2 separate regions of the Homo sapiens genome follow, and region 2 is linked to region 1. The links are contacts of gene promoters, found by promoter capture Hi-C in human tissues and cell types (Jung and others, 2019). All regions are on one chromosome and are shown on one strand. Each heading gives the region's core, a stretch centred on a gene start or on the middle of the fragment in contact. The rest is flanking DNA. Distances are from core to core; before and after follow the strand shown. Region 1 holds the start of NCR1 (natural cytotoxicity triggering receptor 1). Region 2 overlaps NLRP2 (NLR family pyrin domain containing 2).

Region 1 (6,312 bases), core at 3,754-6,253:
ATGGTCTTGATCTCCTGACCTCATGATCCACCTGCCTCGGTTTCCCAAAGTGCTGGGATTACAGGCGTGAGCCACCGCGCCGGGCCTCACTCCTGTAATCCTAGCCGTGCGCCCCAGGCCCATCCCACCGTCATCTTCCAAACATCATTTTCAACCCTCCTGGCCTCATAGTTATTATTGTATTACCCCAGTTATCTTCCTGCCCCAGGGCACAGGCAGATGCCATTTCATTCTCTCCAGAGCCTCCTTTCTCCTGACAGCCACATGATTAACTCAAGTCTGAACGCATTTGCTCAGATGCCTTCTTTCTCTGTGAGGTCCATCTGGACAAACCTATTTAATATTGCTAGCTGCCATTTCAATCACTGTAAGTCTGTTCTACTTTGTCTTTTCCTTCCATAGCATCATTCCCTCCTGTGTGCTATCCTGACGTTGACCGATGGTGTGTCTCCTCCTGCTAGAATCTAAGTGCTGCACAGTCAAGATATCTGCCTGGCTGACTGTTACAGTGTAGTTCACTGTGTATACTATGCACTTGATGAATATATATATATAATAGTTTTGTTTTTGTTTTTCTGTGAGATGGAGTCTCGCTGTGTCGTGCAGTGGAGTGGAATGCAGTGGCGCGATCTCAGCTCACTGCAACCTCTGCATCCCAGGTTCAACAATTCTCCTGCCTCAGCCTCCTGAGTAGCTGGGATTACAGGCGAGCACCACCAGGCCCGGCTAATTTTTGTATTTTTAGTAGAGATGGGGTTTCACCATGTTGGTCAGGCTGGTCTCGAATTCCTGACCTTGTGATCCAACCACCTTGGCCTCCCGAAGTGTTGGGATTACAGGTGTGAGCCATGATGCCCAGCCTAAGTTTTGTATTTTTAGTAGAGACAGGGTTTCGCCATGTTGGCCAGGCTGGTCTCAAACTCCTGACCTCAAATGATGCACCATCTCGGCCTCCCAAAGTGCTGGGATTACAGGCGTGAGCCACCACGCCTGGCCTCGATGAATATTTTGAATGAATGCCACGTTTTTAGTGTCACTGGGAGGCTCTGATCGCTCGTCTGAGCTTAGAAGGACCAGTTACTCACCAGGAAAGGTGGGGTCTTCAGGTGCAAGGCTGGTGTTCTCAATGTCGCCTGGAAAAGGAGATAAAGAAAAAAAAGTAAGGGTTTTTGGTTTCCTCCGGTCTTGCCATTCTTTTTTTTTTTTTTTTTTTTTTGAGATGGAGTCTTGCTCTGTCGCCCAGGTTGCAGTGCGGTGGTATGATCTCGGTTCACTACAACCCCCGCCTCCCGGGTTCAAGCGATTCTCCTGCCTCAGCCTCCTGAGTAGCTGGGACTACAGGTGTCCGCCACTGCGTCTGGCTAATTTCTGTATTTTTAGTAGAGACGGGGTTTCACCGTCTTGGCCAGGCTGGTCTCGAACTCCTGACCTTGTGATCCACCCGCCTTACCATTCCTTTCTCTGTTCCCTCCTCCTTCCTGCTTCTGGTGTTCTTCCTCACATGACCAACCAGGCACCCAGGAAGTGGACGTCCCTTGGACACCCTCCCCATCACTCTCTGGGGATCCCTCAGGGCTCCAGGTAGCACATGGCGGCGAAGGGTGTGGGGAATTGAGCATTTCCTCACCTGTGACCAGGAGCTTCACTGGCTCACTGGGGAAAGACCAGGCATGGTTGTTATAGGAGCCAAAACATCGGTATGTCCCTCTGTGGGCTGTGGTCACAGGGCCCAGGGGGAACTCCGCCTGGACCTTCCCGTATCCGCGCTGTACGTGGCTGGATCTTCCCTCCTTGAGCAGTAAGAACATGCTTGTTGCAGTGTCTAGACGGCAGTAGAAGGTCACCTTCTCTCCCGAGATCACTTCGGGTCCAGGATGAACCGAGAGGGTGGGTGTGTCATACATTTCTATGAGAGAAGGTGGGGCCACCACACCAGAAACTCAGTGATGAGCAGCCAGCTATTTTTTTTTTTCTTTCTTTAGAGATGGAGTCTCTCTCTGTCGCCCAGGCTGGAGTGCAGTGACACGATCTTGGCTCACTGCAACCTCCGCCTCCCGGGTTCAAGCGTTTCTCCTGCCTCACCCTCCCAAGTAGCTGGGACTACAGGGGCCTGCCACCATGCCTGGCAGCCAGCTTTTTTTTTTTTTTTTAATTATTATTTTGGTCAAATACACACAATAGAAGATTTACCGTCTAAAACCATTTTTAAAAATGATACAGGGTCTTGCTCTGTTTCCCAGGCTGGAGCGCCGTGGCACTATCTTTGCTTACTGAAGCCTCGACCTCCTGGGTCAGGAGTTTGAGACCAGCCTGGTCAACATGGTGAAACCCCGTCTCTACTAAAAATGCAAAAATTAGCCGGGTGTGGTGGCACATGCCTGTAATCTCAACTACTTGGGAGGCTGAGGCAGGAGAATTGAGGCTGAGGCAGAGGTTGCAGTGAGCTGAGATTGTACCACTGCACTGCAGCGAGACTGTCTCAAAAAAAAAAAAAAAAGCCCCGGCCAGCCGCCCCGTCCGGGAGGTTGGGGGGCAGCCCCCGCCCGGCCACTGCCCCGTCTGGGAGGTGGGGGGGCGCCTCTGCCCGGCCGCCCCGTCTGGGAAGTGAGGAGCCCCTCTGCCCGGCCGCCACCCCGTCTGGGAGGTGTACCCAACAGCTCATTGAGAACGGGCCATGATGACGATGGCGGTTTTGTCGAATAGAAAAAGGGGAAATGTGGGGAAAAGAAAGAGAGATCAGATTGTTACTGTGTCTGTGTAGAAAGAAGTAGACATAGGAGACTCCATTTTGTTCTGTACTAAGACAAATTCTTCTGCTTTGGGATGCTGTTAATCTATGACCTTACCCCCAACCCCGTGCTCTCTGAAACATGTGCTGTGTCCACTCAGGGTTAAATGGATTAAGGGCGGTGCAAGATGTGCTTTGTTAAACAGATGCTTGAAGGCAGCATGCTCCTTAAGAGTCATCACCACTCCCTAATCTCAAGTACCCAGGGACACAAACACTGCGGAAGGCCGCAGGGACCTCTGCCTAGGAAAGCCAGAGACCTTTGTTCACATGTTTATCTGCTGACCTTCTCTCCACTATTGTCCTATGACCCTGCCAAATCCCCCTCTCCGAGAAACACCCAAGAATGATCAATAAATACTAAAAAAATTAAAAAAAAAAGAATAAATGAGTAGCTGTGTTCCCCTGCCAGAACCTCCAAACAAGGTCCAAAGACCCTGAGCAAATGAAAAGGCACAGACAAAAAATATATATATTTCAACACAAGTATATGACACAGAATATAGAAATAACTTTTCCTAATCAATCAAAATATAAGCAACCCAATTTAAAAATAGGCAAAAGATTTAAATAGACATTTCACAAAAGAAGATATTTGAATGGACATGAAATACTGTTGTGAGCTGCATAATGACATTTTGGCCAACAATGTACCACATATATGATGGTGGTCCCATAAGATTATAATGAAACTGAAAAATTCCTATTGCCTGATGACATCATAGCCTTCCTAGCACAAAGTATTGCTCATGTGTTTTTGGTGTTGCTGGTATAAACAAACCTAATTGTATAGCACATACAATTATGTATGTATATGTAACTATGTATAATACTTGATAATAATAATAAACAACCATATTGTTAAAAAAAAAAAAAAGCTAATTTTTTTTTTTTTTTAGAAAACCACCACCTGGCTGGGTGTGATGGCTCACACCTGTAATCCCAGCACTTTGGGAGGGTGAGGCGGGCGGATCATCTGAGGTCAGGAGTTCGACACCACCCTGGCCAACATGGTGAAACCCCATCTCTACTAAAAATACAAAATGTGGCGTAGTGGTGGGTGCCTGTGATCCCAGCTACTTGGGAAGCTGAGGCTGGAGAATCACTTGAACCCAGGAGGTGGAGGTTGCAGTGACTGGAGATTGCACCACTGCACTCCAGCCTGGGTGACAAGAGCGAAACTCCGTCTCAAAACAGATAAAAAAAAAAAAAACCCACCACCTGTGATGGGTGAGGGAAGCAAAGTGTAAGCCACTGCGCCTGGCCCACAGGCATTGTTTTTGAGGACATTCCTCAGTCATACCCCTGCATACAAATATCTATCTCAGAATCTGTGTCATGGAGAAACTGACTGAGGACACATCTGCTCCTAGGACGTAGAGACACGGTCTGCAGACAACCCCTTGTAGGCAAGGATTGTGATGGGGATCACCCCTCCTTCCAGCCTCCTACCGAGACAAGCAGTGTCTGAGTGGGGCTTGGAAGAGTTCATAGATGATGCTGCATCCCGGATGCAGACTGAGATCACTCTCCAGTTAGAGAACCGGACAGTTACCTGTTACCACCAGATCCAGCAAGTTGCTGGGCTCTGACCAGAGCTCCCCAACCCGATAGATGCAGCTGTATTGCCCTGCCATGCGGGAGTTCATGTCCGGGATGTAGAATTGGACTTTGTTAATCCGCTCAGGGGGTTTTGGTCTGTCCACGGCAAAAAGGCTTCCTTCAAAGTGCAGCTGGTATTCAACAGCCCCATAATTTCCCTGGCAACAGATGGTCACTTGCTTTTCCTTTGGAACCATGAAATGGGGCTCGGCCCAGATGAACGGTTTTGGGAGAGTCTCTGGAAGGGAATCAGAGGCTGGAGTTCCAGCGGAGCCCCCTCCCCCCAACCTTAGGCTCCACCCAGCTGCTGGCCCCAAGCTCTCCTGGGAAGCCAGCACCCTGTCCCCTCACCCCAGCCGTGCTTGGGTGGAAGGAGCTTGGCCTGAATCCGGAAGAGTGACCCTGGGCTTTGAAGGAAGGACTCACGCTGCTGGGCGCTGATCCTCTGACTCAGACACAGCCCTGGAAGACGGGAGTAATGAGACCTGTTGCCTCCCAGGCACACCGTGATCCCATTCCCCTTCCACGCCAGAACTCACCGACGCAGAGCAGGGCAGGGAGTGTGGAAGACATCGCTCAGATTCTGCCGGCCTAGTGCTGAGCAGTGGGGACTGAGCCGGGCGGGCCAGGGAGATAGATACACAGGAAGTGGTGGGTGAGCACCAGCGCCCATCACCAGAGCGCTTTCACGTTGACTGCTTTCATCAGAACGTTCACAACTCCCCTCCGCCTCTGACCATGAGCTTACAGAAAGGCCGTGGTCCCTCTGACACATCTGTGGTCTAGCCAGCAACTCTGACAATTGTCTGCTCAGCCCAAAATGCATTTCTGGGTCAACTTCTCAATTCTGCAATGTGGAGGTCGTACCCAGAGCTGACTGTGGGAAGTTGTGCCCAATCATGCCCAGAGGAAACCCCCTGAGAATCGTATAAAAACATAGGGAGTTTCACAGTGAGATACTGGAACAGGAATTAAAAGAAATTACAGAATGTGTAAACAAAAACTCAGTTGTATTTAAGAAAACCCAGTTCCCCCCGAGGAAGAGAAAGAGGTGGAGTCCTTTAAACATGAACTGCCTGTTTTTCTGTCTGTGGCTAGTGAGCCTTATCTCTCCCTTTCCCAGGCATTGTGAAGACCCTGTTTCTCTTGCCGTGCGGCTGCAAGGTCACTAGACAGGATAACCTCAAGTCGTAAAACATATTTTTCTTGAAAAGTAAGGAATAATGTGATGCATGTCTCAATTGAATAACTGCCTTTGTTTCTTGCTTCTGTAATATGCTTCCCCCTGCACAGATCTCCCCCAACCCCACAAAATGCTTAAAAGGTAACCGGACTCTCTGTTCGAGCCTCAGTCTTTTTGGATGTTAATCTGACTGGGGCCGGTGCACCTAAATAATAATAATAATAATAAATCCTCCTCAACCCCTCGGTCTCTCTGATTCCTAAATTATCCCTCAACAATACCATCTCACACCAGTCAGAATGGCCATTACTGAAAAGCCAGAAATTAACAGATGCTGGTGAGATTGTGGAGCAAAGGGGACACTTATACACTGTTGGTGGGTGTAAATTAGTTCAGCCACTGTGGAAAGCAGTTTGGTTTGGAGATATTTCAGAGAACTACAAACAGAGTTACCATTCAGCCCAGCAATCCCATCGCTGGGTATATAGCCAAAGGAAAATAAATCATTCTACCAAAAAGACACATGCACTTGTATGTTCATTGCAGCAGGATTCACAATAGTGAAGACATGGAATCCACCCAGGTCCCATCAGAGGTGGACTGGATAAAGACAATGTGATATGTATACACCACAGAACGCTATACAGCCTTGAAAAATCACAAGATTATGTCCTTTGCAGCAACATGGATGCAGCTAGAGGCCATTATCCTAAGCGAGTTAACACAGAAACAGAAAACC
Region 2 (4,361 bases), core at 1,468-3,967, 79 kb before region 1:
CTAGGAGACAGAGCAAGACTATATCTTGAGAAAAAAAGAAAGAAATTAGTGACCCAAATCTTTAATTCACCCAATATTCCCCCTCACCCTGCATCCCATTATTCTCAGGCAAAAAGAAAAGAGGGTAATTGCAACGGTTAGTAATGATAGCAGCCACTATTGAATGCATGGGCTTGGTTTCATTCAACCTTCCAATACCTGTAAGATGTACAGCATCCTATTCAACTAAGATCCCATTAAGCAGCCTAAGATTGTATCAGTAGAGCCAGAGCAATCAATTTTTTTTCTGTCCTCGAGATGGAGTTTTGCTCTGTTGCCCAGGCTGGAGTGCAATGGCGTGATCTTGGCTCACTGCTACCTCTGCCTCCTAGGTTCAAGCAATTCTCTTGCATCAGCCTCCATGAGTAGCTGGGATTACAGGCACGCGCCACCATGCCCAGCTAATGTTTTTGTATTTTTAGTAGACGTGGGGTTTCACCATGTTGGCCAGGCTGGTCTTGAACTCCTGACCTTGTGATCCACCTGCCTTGGCCTCCCAAAGTGCTGGGATTACAGGCATGAGCTACCGCACCCAGCCAAGATTTTTTTTTTTTTTTTTGAGACAGTCTCACACTGTTGCCCAGACTGGAGTGCGGTGGTGTGATCTCAGCTCACTGCAACCTCCGCCTCTCAGGTTCAAATGATGCTCCTGCCTCAGCCTCCTGAGTAGCTGGGACTACAGGCGTGCGCCAACATGCCCAGCTAATTTTTGTATTATTAGTAGAGACAGAGTTTCACCATGTTGACCAGGCCGGTCTTGAACTCCTGACCTCAAGTGATCCACCCACCTCGGCCTCCCAGGCGTGAGCCACTGCGCCTGGCCCAGGGCAATAATTTGAGGCCAATGACCACCTACTACACCAGTGTGGCCAAGTGAGGCTTCATGGAACCCCATGATGCATGTAGGTTCTCATCGCCTGGGCAGCCACTGGACAGCTTCCCAAGGGGAGAGCTCTCAAACCAGAGGACTAACAGAAAAGGGGCAACTTGATGTTCCTGAAGGGTTCTTGCTTGAAAAATGTCAATAGCTGGTATTCTGAATCATCATACAGGAGAAGCATGAACCATGAGTGAATGATCTCTGATAGAAGATAAAGATTCTGGGCTGGGCACGGTGGCTCATGCCTCACTTTGGGAGGCCGACGGCGGGGTGGGGTGGGGGTGGGGGGGTAGATCACCTGAGGTCATGAGTTCGAGACCAGCCTGGCCAATGTGGTAAAACTCCATCTCTACTAATAATACAAAAATTAACCAGGTGTGGTGGTGTGCACCTGTAATCCCAGCTACTCAGGAGGCTGAGGCAGGAGAATCACTTGAACCTGGGAGGTGGAGGCTGCAGTGACCTGAGATCATACCAACGCACTCCAGCCTGGGTGACAGAGCGAGACTCCATCTCAAAAAGAAAAAAGAAAAAGAAAAAACCAAAACCAAAACCAAAACATAAGGACTCTGGCTGGGCATGGTGGCTCATGCCTATAATCCCAGCACTTTGGGAGCCTGAGGAGGGCAGGTCACCTGAGGTCATGAGTTCGAGACCAGCCTGGCAATGTGGCGAAACCAGCTCCACTAAATGCACAAAAATTAGCCGGGCGTGGTGGCGGGTGCCTGTAATCCCAGCAACTTGGGAGGCTGAGGCAGCAGAATTACTTGAACCCAGGAGACAGAGGTTGCAGTGAGCCAAGATCGTGCCATTGCACTTTGGCCTGGGCAACAGAGCAAGACTTCATAAAAAAAAAAAAAAAGATGATAAAGATTCTGGGAGTTTCTTTGGATTCAGGGTCCTCACGTATGGTTGTCCAGGGTGTTTACTGTTCAAGGCAAGTAGAAACTCAAGTTCAGCCCATGCTGCATCCTGGGTCATCTGCCCTTAGTACTGTTTCTAGTCAGAATAACGAACTTTTTCTTATTTACACAAAATTGCCACATAAGCTTGTGGTAGCTTATGTTTGTATGATGAAGGATTTTAATGATTAAGAGATATACCCGAGATATCGCAGGTTACATTCTGGATGTCTCAAGACCTCACACAATGCGGGAAACATATCATCCTGGTCATTGCCTTGAAGGGTCAGATACGTTACAGTCTTGTGACCTCGAAGAGCTAGGCAGAGGTTCCGATGAGCATCAGCTGGGGAAATGTTTTTGAACCTAGGGAAAAGAGAACGAAAGTGAAATCTTTAGTGTGTACACCTGTATCGTACTTAAATGGAAACCAGGGGCTCGATATATTTAAACTTTAGGAACTATTTTTTCCATGTTTAAATTTTTGTCCATCTTTACAGATTTTTTTTTTCTTTGAGATGGAGTCTCACTCTGTTGCCCAGGCTGGAGTGCAGTGGCGCGATCTCGGCTCACTGCAAAGCAAACTCTGCCTCCCGGATTCAAGCGACTCCTACCCTCAGCATCCGGAGTAGCTGGGATTATAGGCACCTGCCACGACACCTGGCAAATTTTTGTATTTTTCGTAGAGACAGGGTCTTGCACCATCTTGGCCAGGCTGGTCTTGAACTCCTGACCTCAAGTGATCCCCCCACCTTGGGCCCCCAAAGTGCTGGGACTACAGGCGTGAGCCATTGTGCCCGGCCCTTTTTTTCTTTTTCTTTTTTTTTTTTTTTTTTTTTGAGACGCAGTCTCGCTCTGTCACTCAGACTGGAGTCCAGTGGCAGGATCTTGGTTCACTGCAACCTCCGCCTCCTGGGTTCAAGTAATTCTCCTGCCTCAGCCTCCCAAGTAGCTGATATTACAGGTGCCTGCCACCACGCCTGGATAATTTTTGTATTTTTAGTAGAGGCAGGGTTTTGTCACGTTGGCCAGGCTGGTCTCGAACTCCTGACCTCAAGTGATCTGTCTGCCTCGGCCTCCCGAAGTGTTGGAATTACAAGTGTGAACCACCATGCCCAGCCCCTAGAAATTACTTTATACGATTATCCCACAAAATAAATTTAAGGACAGGACTCTCTCAATTCCCTGTGTCTCGAGCACTTAAGAGTCTAGTACAGGAATCTGAATATTGCTCCGATGTTAACATTGTACCATTTTCATACCCTAAGGATTTGAGTTCATGAATTAGTTTCTACTTACACCACTCTCTGGAGATGACAGGTGTCAGAGGCTATTTGTTCACACAGGATCCTTACTAGGGAGGCACTGAGAAAGCTATCATTGATTGCTAGACCCATCAGATCCTTATTTGATCCAAATATGGAACAAAGGTCCGTCCAGAAAGGAAGCATGTGCTGATCATCCTGGGATCTATAGGGAAGAGAAGAAAGGGTTACACCAAATGTGTGTCCATCACGGCTGAAGTATTTAGGGTTTCTCTGGGCATATACCCCTGACAAATGAGTACAATTGAAAGCTGGACCATGTAATCACTTATTAGCACCACCATCAGACAACTCAACACCCAAGAAGCATCACAGGAGAAAGAACCTATTCTTCTTAGACAAAAATCCAATAGAGGGTAAAAATAAGTTAAAATGCTAAGCACATCATTGATAAAAGATAGAGAATATAGACCGGGCACGGTGACTCACGCCTATAATCCTAGCACTTTGTGAGGCTGAGGCGGGTGGATCACCTGAGGTCGGGAGTTCGAGACCTGCCTGGCCAACATGGTGAAACCCCGTCTCTACTAAAAGTACAAAAATTAGCTGGGCATGGTCGTGGGTGGCTGTAATCCCAGCTACTCATGAGGCTGAGGCAGGAGAATCATTGAACCTGGTGGGGCGGAGGTTGCAGTGAGCCGAGATCGAGCCACTTCACTCCGACCTGGGAAAAAGAGTGAAACTCCGTCTCAAAAAAAAAAAAAAAGATTGGGAATATACATATCTATACATATCAATAAGAAATATTCAGGCAGGGCGTGTGGTAACTCATGCCTGTAATCTCAGTGCTTTGGGAGTTCAAGACCAGCCTGGACAACATAGTGAGATTTTGTCTTTCCAAAAAAAAAAAAAAAAAAAAAAACACAAAAAAAAACCCCCACTTAAGTTAGCTGGACATGATGGTGCACACTTAATACCTGTCATCCCAGGTACTCAGGAACATCACTTGAACCCAGAAGTTTGAGGATGCAGTGAGCTGATTTCACCACTGTACTCCAGCCTGAGCAACACAGCAAGACCCTGTCTTAAAAAAATATATTTGGGCCGGGCATGGTGAATCATGCCTGTAATCCCACTTTGGAGGCTGAGGCAGGTGGATCACCTGAGGTCAGGCGGAGTTCAAGACCAGACTGGCCAACATGCTGAGATCCCGTCTCTAATGAAAATATAAAAATTAGCCGGGCAAGGTGGCAGGCGCCTGTAGTCCCAGCTACT

What was found. The method cuts DNA at HindIII sites, captures the fragments that hold promoters and counts their contacts. A contact is called where the count stands out against the background at its distance.
Region 2: a fragment that was not itself captured here is called in contact with the fragment with the promoter of NCR1 in region 1 in 2 of the 25 tissues and cell types used here (mesenchymal stem cells and pancreas).

What each region holds. Positions count from the first base shown.
Region 1 is chr19:54,904,839-54,911,150 of GRCh38, reverse strand. It overlaps NCR1 (natural cytotoxicity triggering receptor 1), which reads right to left and starts at 5,003. Exons shown (of 7, transcript NM_004829.7): 1 at 4,930-5,003; 2 at 4,817-4,852; 3 at 4,344-4,628; 4 at 1,628-1,906; 5 at 1,086-1,133. The coding sequence starts at 4,963. The HindIII fragment of the contact is 21,719 bases long and covers 1-6,312 here.
Region 2 is chr19:54,983,977-54,988,337 of GRCh38, reverse strand. NLRP2 (NLR family pyrin domain containing 2) reads right to left here. Exons shown (of 13, transcript NM_017852.5): 7 at 3,121-3,291; 8 at 2,023-2,187. Among named protein-coding and RNA genes, the nearest start is that of NLRP2, 20 kb to the right of the region's middle. The HindIII fragment of the contact is 9,446 bases long and covers 1-4,361 here.